Regions from separate parts of the Homo sapiens genome. Here region 1 is linked to region 2. Evidence: promoter capture Hi-C in human tissues and cell types (Jung and others, 2019). All regions are on one chromosome and are shown on one strand. Each heading gives the region's core, a stretch centred on a gene start or on the middle of the fragment in contact. The rest is flanking DNA. Distances are from core to core; before and after follow the strand shown. Region 1 holds the start of LOC102723834 (a long non-coding RNA gene). Region 2 holds the start of ENAH (ENAH actin regulator).

The links. The method cuts DNA at HindIII sites, captures the fragments that hold promoters and counts their contacts. A contact is called where the count stands out against the background at its distance.
Region 1: a fragment that was not itself captured here is called in contact with the fragment with the promoter of ENAH in region 2 in 1 of the 25 tissues and cell types used here (aorta).

What each region holds. Positions count from the first base shown.
Region 1 is chr1:225,691,293-225,696,033 of GRCh38, reverse strand. It overlaps LOC102723834 (a long non-coding RNA gene), which reads right to left and starts at 4,347. Exons shown (of 4, transcript XR_426933.4): 1 at 4,241-4,347. The HindIII fragment of the contact is 6,670 bases long and covers 1-4,741 here.
Region 2 is chr1:225,650,096-225,654,591 of GRCh38, reverse strand. It overlaps ENAH (ENAH actin regulator), which reads left to right and starts at 1,469. Exons shown (of 14, transcript NM_018212.6): 1 at 1,469-1,906. The coding sequence starts at 1,902. RefSeq lists a silencer at 1,490-1,619. The HindIII fragment of the contact is 16,817 bases long and covers 1-4,496 here.

The DNA of each region.
Region 1 (4,741 bases), core at 1,494-3,993, 40 kb before region 2:
TATCCAGAGTTTTTGGTTACTATATAAACATAACAAACACGACATTGGACCTAAATGCTGTAAGTCACTTAAAAGTCTTCCAGTTAAGAAAGGGGGCAAACTAATAAAGGGCTTCAGAAATGATTATTTTTATTGTGAAATATTTTTACTGCTATTTTTATGCTGGGTTTTAAAAAGACCAAAATATGTTTATCCTTGACTCTATGTAACTCTTCAGACCATCAGCCAACTTGCTTAAGCATGCTCCTGACCTGCAGAGACATGGGAGAGAATGTGGATGGTGCAGTACAAGGCTTCACCTTTGTGAATATGCTCAGGCCAACAGCTGGAAGCTTAGGATGAGAAATGCTACTCTGAGCTTTGTCACCTTCGAAGGCCAGAGATGTTACTTTATGTTCAAATGTTGTATGTTCACATTTGTTAGTAGGTTCTGGTTAACGCTTACAGATGCTAGGTAGAAAGAGCTGAAACTATTAATGCCCAGATATTAATTATTAAGGATAGACACCAAAGTACCCAGACCTAGGAGGGCTCATGTTGTTAATGAAAAACTAGGGGGGAAATATTATGGTGCGTTATTTTCGTAACCCCTATGTTTGCCATGAAGTTAACCCTCCAGATCTAAGGGTTGAAATTCATGAAGTGTTTGTGTGTGTGTGTGCGTGTGCGTGTGTGTGTGTGAAGTTTGTGTCCTTCAGAGCTGTTGGGGTTGTCTTTTTTTTTTCTTTCTTTTTTAAGACGAGATCTCACTCTGTTACCCAGGCTGGAGTGCAGTGACACGATCATGGCTCCCTGCAGCCTCAAACTCTTGGGCTCAAGCAATCCTCCGACCTTAGCCTCCTGAGTAGCTGGGACTACAGGCACATGCCACCACACCTGGTGATATGGTTTGGCTGTGTCTCCACCCAAATCTCATCTTGAATTCCTATGTGTTGTGGGAGTGACCCATTGGGAGGTAATTGAGTCATAGGGGCAGGTCTTTCCCATGGTGTTCTCATGACAGTAAGTCTCATGAAATCTGATGGTTGTTATAAGGGGGAGTTTTCCTTCACAAGTTCTCTCTTTGCTTGCTGCCATCCATGTAAGATGTGACTTGCTTCTCCTTGCCTTCCGCCATGATTGTGAGGCTTCCCCAGCCACGTGGAACTGTAAGTCCAATTAAACCTCTTTCTTTTGTAAATTGCTCAGTCTCAAGTATGTCTTTATCAGCAGCATGAAAATGAACTAACAGACTGGCTTTTTTTTTTTTTTTGTAATTATAAGGTCTCACTATGTTGCCCAAGCAGGTCTTGAATTTCTGGCCTCAAGTGATCCTCCTACCTTGACCTCCCAAAGTACTGGACTTATAGGTGTGAGCTGCTGTGTCTGGCCTGTTTTTCTAATTAAGGAGGCACACACATAACCTTGGTCTTGGAGGAGGTTTCTGGCCGAACTCTTTGACCCTCTGTAGAAAGCAGTAGGTCCAAGGAGAAAGCAAATTCCTGGGTTCTGTCCTGCTTCCTCAACCCCGGCCTGGCACCATCTCCTACATCATTTTTTGGCTCCCTGTTCCCTTTATCCAGTGGATAAAGTAAGGTGGTCCCTTCTTTGTTCTTTGCAGCAGATCAGACTGGAACCAGGAAACTGATTGTTTTTCTATGTTTGCTGGTACTTGGTAAAAGGAAGCAAACCCTGTAGTGTTGACTTAAGGTTAAATGGGGTGAGTGCTGACTTCATGTGTTCTGGCATGATCTTATCTGTTGGAGATAACACAGGCAAGCCCTGGAGTCTAGTAGAACACAGCGGGGCTGAAGCTCATACAGCTCTGCAGGGCCTTGATGCAACAAATGCTGGAGACTTCATTTCTTTAAAGGACTTAGCTAATGGTCAATTACTATTGTTAGAATATTATTAATCCCATTCTGTATATAAGTAAATGTTGACAGAAAATGGTTTAATGACTTGCTCCAAATTTCATAGCACACCAAGATTATAGTTACAGGAAAAAATAGCTAGATTTTCTCATTTTCTTTTTTTTTGGAGATGGAGTGTCAGTCTTGTTGACCAGGCTGGAATGCAGTGGTGCGATCTCGGCTCACTGCAACCTCCACCTCCTGGGTTCAAGTGATTCTCCTGCCTCAGCCTCCTGAGTAGCTGGGATTACAGGCGCCCACCACCACGCCGGCTAATTTTGTATTTTTTTAGTAGAGACGGGGTTTCACCATGTGGGCCAGGCTGGTCTTGAACTCCTGATCTCAGATGATCCATCTGCCTCAGCCTCCCAAAGTGCTGGGATTACAGGTGTAAGCCACCATGCCCAGCCTAGAATTTCTCATTTTCAAACCCATGCTTTAGCAGGGAGACTTAGCTGTAAATAAACATGCTTTACATGCACAGTAAGAAAATCAGAGAAAATAACATTACAGAATCTAGCATCTTTTAGAGTCTTTGGATGGAAGTTTCTTTTTTTTCCCCCTGTGTACTGTTTGACAGTTTCACTGCTAACATTTTAACTCCTTCACTTCTGTATGCACCATCTAAGAGGTGATGAGTCGTCATTTTCTTTCCCTAAGGACCTGAGGGGCAGAGAGGTTAACAATTTAGCCCAGGACACATTTTTAGAGGTAGAACTATGACCAGAAGTCCTAGATATCCTGACTTTAGATCAGGGCTTTTCTCACAATGCTAGAAACTGACTGCTTGTGTTCTGAGCAACTAGTACATACCTGCACGGATTTTGGACTGTGCTGGGTAGCACGGATTTTGGACTGTGCTGCATAGCACGGATTTTGGACTGTGCTGCATAGCACGGATTTTGGACTGTGCCGGGTCAACTTGCTTTAACTGGAATGGTTTTCTCAAGTTCCTTTCTTGGTATGCCTCTGGGTGAGAGCTGGACAAAAGAGAAATTTGTCCAAGATTAGGAAGGTGGAAGTAAAGCAACAGCCACTACTCTCTGAAGGTCATTGTGGTTTGATGCTCTGACTGGCAGGTGCAGGGGTGCTGGTGGGTTCCAGCTTGTTCAGTTTCCCATTCCACAGCCAGCAACTCTTCCTAAGACCATTAGTGGGGCCGGCTCACCATCAGAAACATAGACTTTTCTACCAGCTCTACTTTCACGGTCCCACTTCAGCAACCAGATGTGCCTAGCTGCCTATATTCCTTGGCAAACTTTGTTCCATCCACACCAGTGCTTCAGGAAGGCTGGTTTGTGACTGATGCTTTAACTCCTTGTCATGCACCCTTCCTTAGCTTCTCCCACCATTGCCTAATATATCCTTCAAAATTTACACATGGTTCTGCTTCCCTGTTTGGGTGCTGACAGAGAGAATACCAACATGGGCTGGGCGTGGTGTCCCATGCCTGTAATCCCAAAACTTTGGGAAGCCAAGGTGGGAGGATGTCTTAAGGCCAGGAGTTCTAGACCAGCCTGGGCAACATAGCAGGACCCCATCTCTAAAAATAAATAAATTTAAAAAGGGAAAAAAAAGAATAAGCAACATGGTGCACCATGAGAGCTGCAGAAGAAACATGAAAGTGTTCCTGCCGTCAAGGGACACATGGCTATTGGGAAGATGGAGCACTTTAACACAGCCAGCTGGGGACTCATGTAGCTTATGGTAAAGTGACAAACGCACAATGCAGTCATTGCAGCCCAAGGTGTCTAGTGTCTCTTAGTGCCAGGCATGAGGAGCTGATTGGGAATGGTCATAGTCAGCATTTTCCATGACTGATGACCACATTGAGATCCAAGTGGAGACCAACTTTTCCTTTCTCTGTTCCAGGCTTTTAGGCTCCTTATCAACACAAGAATGGACATCAAGTTACTTACATATTGGGCCAAAATATTGAGTGCAGATGAAAATAAATGCTGACTTTGAAGATTTCCCATCCAGCCCGCAGAAATTCCCCTGGCCTGCCACACTTGGGTAACTTGAGTTCTGGAATTCCAGACGTGGTTAACCCCAATCCACAAATTTGCTGGAGTTATGAAGCTGAGTGAGAGTACTGCTTTTCTATTATGCATTCCCAATATGTTCTGTTCTGAGCTGACACCACAGAATTTACTTCTCCCACAAGTTTAACCCACTGCATGGAGTGATCATGGCTCACTGTTTTTTGGTAAATACCAAAATACAGATAACAGTTTTTCACAGTACAAATTTTATATCTGACTTGGCTGGAAACTTCCCCAGTCACTCCGTCTAGTTGCCTCATTTTGTTGGGCCTTGGTTTCTTTCAGTTTCCTACTAAAACTTACCTCTTTGGGGAGGCATGAGTATCAATGCTTGGCTACCAATCCAGGTAAGGCCTCTGAATGAAAGGTGATATGGAAGGGCACAAACGATCTGGATACCTATCCCCTGGGAAAGTCCAGGCCTCAGGCCACAGCAATGCCACAGCTTCTGGAAGCTGCCTGGGAACTGAGGTTTTATTCTCCTGTGTGTGTCTACATGCCTGGAGTGTTGACTCTGGAGACCTATGAATACAGTAAATGACATCATAGGTAGCTCAGGTCAATGAAGATTTATTTTTAGCTATGACCCTTGTCTGTTAAATGATCTGAATTTAAAAAGAAAGAGGACACGGAAGAAGGAAAAGAAATGTGAAAGGCAATGAAAGAATGTAAGATTCCTGCTTGATCTTAAAAAGCACTAGAGCAAAAGTCAAGCACAGCTTTCTTATTTCTTTTCAACCAGAAGGGTGTTACAGGAGAAATGTATGAAGGGCGGAGGATATGCCCTCTTGTGAGAATTCTGTC
Region 2 (4,496 bases), core at 220-2,719:
AATCAGGCATTGACCACGGATCACTATAACCTGTCTTTTCATTTGGAAGTGTACATTATCCCAACCTTCCTAACTATCTTTTGAATGGTACCTGCATCTTAAAACAAAACACCAAAACTTTTGAATGGATTCCTGGAGTCATGGTAGGTCCTCCATTTTGGATGAGATCCTTCAGCAATAGGATCCCTGTAGCAACAACCCTTTTCTATCCTCCTCACCTTTTATACAGAAAGTACATCCCTGTCTTCCGGACTAAAAGGGGGCCGTAATTCGTACAGTTAAAAATTTTATTATTGGATTTGTTTTTAGATTTAAAAAAAACCGAAAACAAAACCTTCAACAACGATCAATTCTGGCTTCCTGGATGCCCTCCTCCCCGACTTGACTTGAAATGAAATTGCCTCGCCAGTATTTTATATCTACTTTTTAAGGGAGGTGACTTCAAGACCATTGGGAATGACGAAAAATTTAAAATTATCATTAGTTCCTCTCTCTCCCCGCCCCCTGCCCGGGATTCCCTCTTTGCTAATGACGCTGGAAAGCGGCTCCACTGGCTGCGTTTCTCTTCTTCCACTCTTGCGGCAACACACTGTTCCGCGCGCGTCTCCCGGCGACTGCGTTTCCCCGAGAGTCGGCTGCGTTCGTTTGGGGATGAAGTCATCCCTATACCTAGTGTGCACATCAACTCGTTCCATCGGCGCAGCACGCTGGGATTCCTCGGGAAGAAAAGGAGCGAAGGGAACAATGATGACCATATTTTCCATTTATATGCCCCTCCTCAACTCCGCAGGAATCGCTGGGCGCAGCCGCGGCGAGGGCGGGCAGTTGGGCTGACCGGGATGCCCCCCGATTCCCTCATCCCCGTCCTGAGACCGCAACAGGGCGGGCTGAGCACTCGCCCCGCGCGAGGGCACCCGGCCGCGAGCCGACCCGGAGTCTCCTGGCCCGGCCCTGTGCCCAGTCACGCGTCCAAGCTCCCCACGCCGGTGCCTACGGGTCTGGCGCCCAGGAGGTCTCGGCGCCTCGGTCTCCGCACCGTGGCCGTGGGGGAGGCCTCGGAGCTCCCCAAGCCTCTGGGGAGCGGGAGGCGACGGGGAGGGGGCCGACGGTCAAGGACAACCACGGGCGAGGAACCCCGGCCGACAACTGGCCGGAGGTGTTGGGCGGGAGGGGGGGGTGGTGGCCCGCCCGAATCCCAGAGGGGTGCAGGGGGCGGGGTAGGGAGGCAACAAAGAGCCTCTCTCCGCCGCCGCCGCCGTCGCGCTCGCTCTCTCCCAGCCTCGCTCTCCGCAGTCCGGCGGGGGCCCGGCCGCCGGCGCGGGGGAGTGCGCCCGGCCCCCCGCCTCCCCTTTCCTCCCCTCCCCCCGCACCGCCCCCTCGCCCCCGGGGGAAGGAGGGGAGGAGGGCGGCGCCTGCGTGTTCCTCCGCCGCGCGCCCCGCCTCCTCCCGGGTTCCTCGCGGCGATCCCGACTCTCCTCCCGCGGCTGCAGCAGCTGCCGGTTGCACACGGCCTCGGCGGCGGCGCGGCGAGCGCGGGCCTGTGGAGCGGCGGCCGGGCGCGCGGCCCCGGCGGGCACCCCTCAGAGGGCGGCCGAGGAAGCTCCGGGAGGAGGAGCAGGACCACGAGGAGGTGGGAGGCGGCGGCCGCCTGGGGACCAGCTCCGCGCCTCGGCCTCTCCGCCCCCTCCCCAGCCTTTCTCTCGCCCTCTTCTCCCACACTCCCGGCCGGCGCCTCGGCTTTGTGCGAGGAGATGGTGTAGCCCCCTGGCCGCCGAAGGAGGAGCCGGACACTTGTCTCCCGTCTCCGAGCTGCTCCCCACCCCTGGAGGAGAGACCCCCCCCTCGGCTCGGCGCCTTCTGCGTCTCCCGGCTGGTGGGGAAGCCTCTGCGCCGCCGGCACCATGAGGTGAGGGGCGCGCGGGGCGGGGGCCGGGCGGGCCATTGTGCCGCGGGAGCCGCGACCCCCGTTCTCCTCGGACCCCGCCTTCCCTCTCCCGGCCCGGCGCGTCTCCCCTGGTCTCCGGTCTGTTCCTCCCCCCTCCGCCTTTTGTCCCTTCCAATTTCTCTTTCTTTCTTGGAAACCTCCCCAACCCGTGTGGTTTGGGGGTCTCGCTTCATCGTTCTCTCATTTTTCCTCAAATGCTCTTCTTTCACCCAGGATTTCCCTTCCTAAATTTAATTTGCGCCTGGCTCCCTCCCCCAAGCCTTTGCAAGCGAAACCCGGGAGATGGGGAGGGGTTCGAGAATCGAAGCGTGCGTGTTGCTGGGAAACAGGTATTTTTTCGTATATATGTAAAAATTTCATGCACTTTTGCCTCCGAACTCTCGTGTTTAATTAAAAAAGGAAGAAAAGTTTGAAAGGTCTGAAATCTCTGCGGGTAATAAAGTGCCTCTGGTAGGGGTAGGTGAAGGAGCTGTGAAAGGTGAAATTTCACGATGGTGGGGGAAGGGAAAGAATTGATTAGGTTCACGTGGTGGGGGCAGTAAAAGACTGGGATAAGTAAGTTGGTAGGGGTGTGTAAGCGGGGGCGGGGAAGGGATCTGTTTGGAAAAGCCTTTTCTCCCCTTTCTCTGTAGCAGCCTGTGTTGCATTGCAGCAGCTGCTTTTTCCCTTTGCTCTGTACTCAATAAAACAGGAGCTAAATTATTTTTGCGGCCCCGAAGAATTGAATGTACTGTCGTAAAATATTTTTTTAATTGATACGATGAAACATATGGTATGATATTTTTCTTTATTGTTTCTCAAATTGTGTAGGAGAATAAACCGTGATGTGGTGTGTCATTCATTGGAGATTTTTTTTCCAGCCTTTCCTAAACCTGTTCTGTGTCCATAACCTTCTCTTTTCGGATTGGTGCAAGACTTCGTGTGAAATGGGACTTGGTAGACTGAAGGCTGATCCATTCTGCGTTATCATCCTTAAAGGCCTTCCTTTTGGGTTAAACAATTGTGGATAAAGTAAATTACTCCATTTCTCTCTCCTGGAAGAGATAGTCTTACAGTTCATTTGGATTTGAATCTCCTTTGTGTTAAAGATTAATGGCCAACCGTTGCTAAGACCTTTATAATGTAATACAATGAGATTTGAATGATATAATCTACAAATTCCTTCGCTTTGGCAAGAAAATGTCATGTCATTGGAATTCTTTCTCAATTTCGGTAGTTTCCATTTTAAACTTTGCTTTTCATTTTTTTTTTCTATCAAGGTTAAACGTGTTTCCATTTTGCTTTTATATATATATTGTGATATATCTTTGTTGAATTTTTACTTAGGCTTACTGTGAATTTGAATTTTTTTTTCTGATTCCAAGTTACCTGTATTTATGATGGCCTTAAAGAGTGAGTTTAATGTGGTGTCTCTAGGCGACTGACCCCTTTTCCCTTGATGATTTCACACAAGTTATTTTCAAATATAAGCGATGAGTTTAAATAGTAATTATAGCATACGAACCAAAAAACACAATCTTTGTAAAATATGGCTTGAAAACTTTGAGTCGTATGTTTGAGCATGACTTCTTTTTTTTTAAATCAAGTTACTGATGTCCTTAAACTCAGGAACTATAATATACATACTGTTATATCTTGTAATATTATATGTTGTTGGTTTCTGTTTTAGAGATCTAATGCCGTAGGGATCTTGCAGACCAGAAGTTATCAGTTGTTTCAAACTTTGGGTAAACTTATCTTAACATTGAGAAATATAAAACAGGGAAAGTTTTTTTTTTTTTTTTTTTTTTTTTTTTTTAAATGCAGTCTTGCTCTCTTGCCCAGGCTGGAGTGCAGTGGCGCGGTCTCGGCTCACTGCAACCTCCGCCTCCTGGGTTCAAGCGATTCTCCTGCCTCAGCCTCCCAAGTAGCTGGGATTACAGGCGGGTATCACCACGCCCGGCTAATTTTTTGTATTTTTAGTAGAGACGGGGTTTCACCATGTTAGCCAGGATGGTCTCCAACTCCGGACCTCGTGATCCACCAGCTTCGGCCTCCCAAAGTGCTGGGATTACAGGCGTGAGCCACGGTGCCTGGCCGAAAGTGGGTTATTTTTAAATAAAAACAGGAATAGTTGTCTAATTCAAAGATTGTGAACTAAAAAAAAGTTACCGTTTTGGGTATTCAGTGAAGTTTAATCACTGTCATGTATAGATGTCAGTCTGTCACAGGTAAATTATGTCTTCACTTGAAAATTCCTTTTCTAATAAAAAGTAACTTCTGTTTTTCAAGCTCTTTTCTTGCTCTGTTCCTTATGAAGTGTAGAGAGAGAGGAACCACGCTGATGTTTTCCAGTAACGTAAATATAGAACTTGGTACACAGGTCTGAAAAGTTTATTTAAGCAGTCTACAGTAATTCTTCGTAGGCTAATTTTGAATAAGAGCAGGAAAGAGGGTCAGCTTTTCACTTTGGAAGGTACTGGATTATTTGGCAGGTGGTTAGGTAGTACTTAGATTTGCTTAGATACCTGTAAAAGTGAGATTGGTATGGGATAAAACGTTCTTGTGCTGC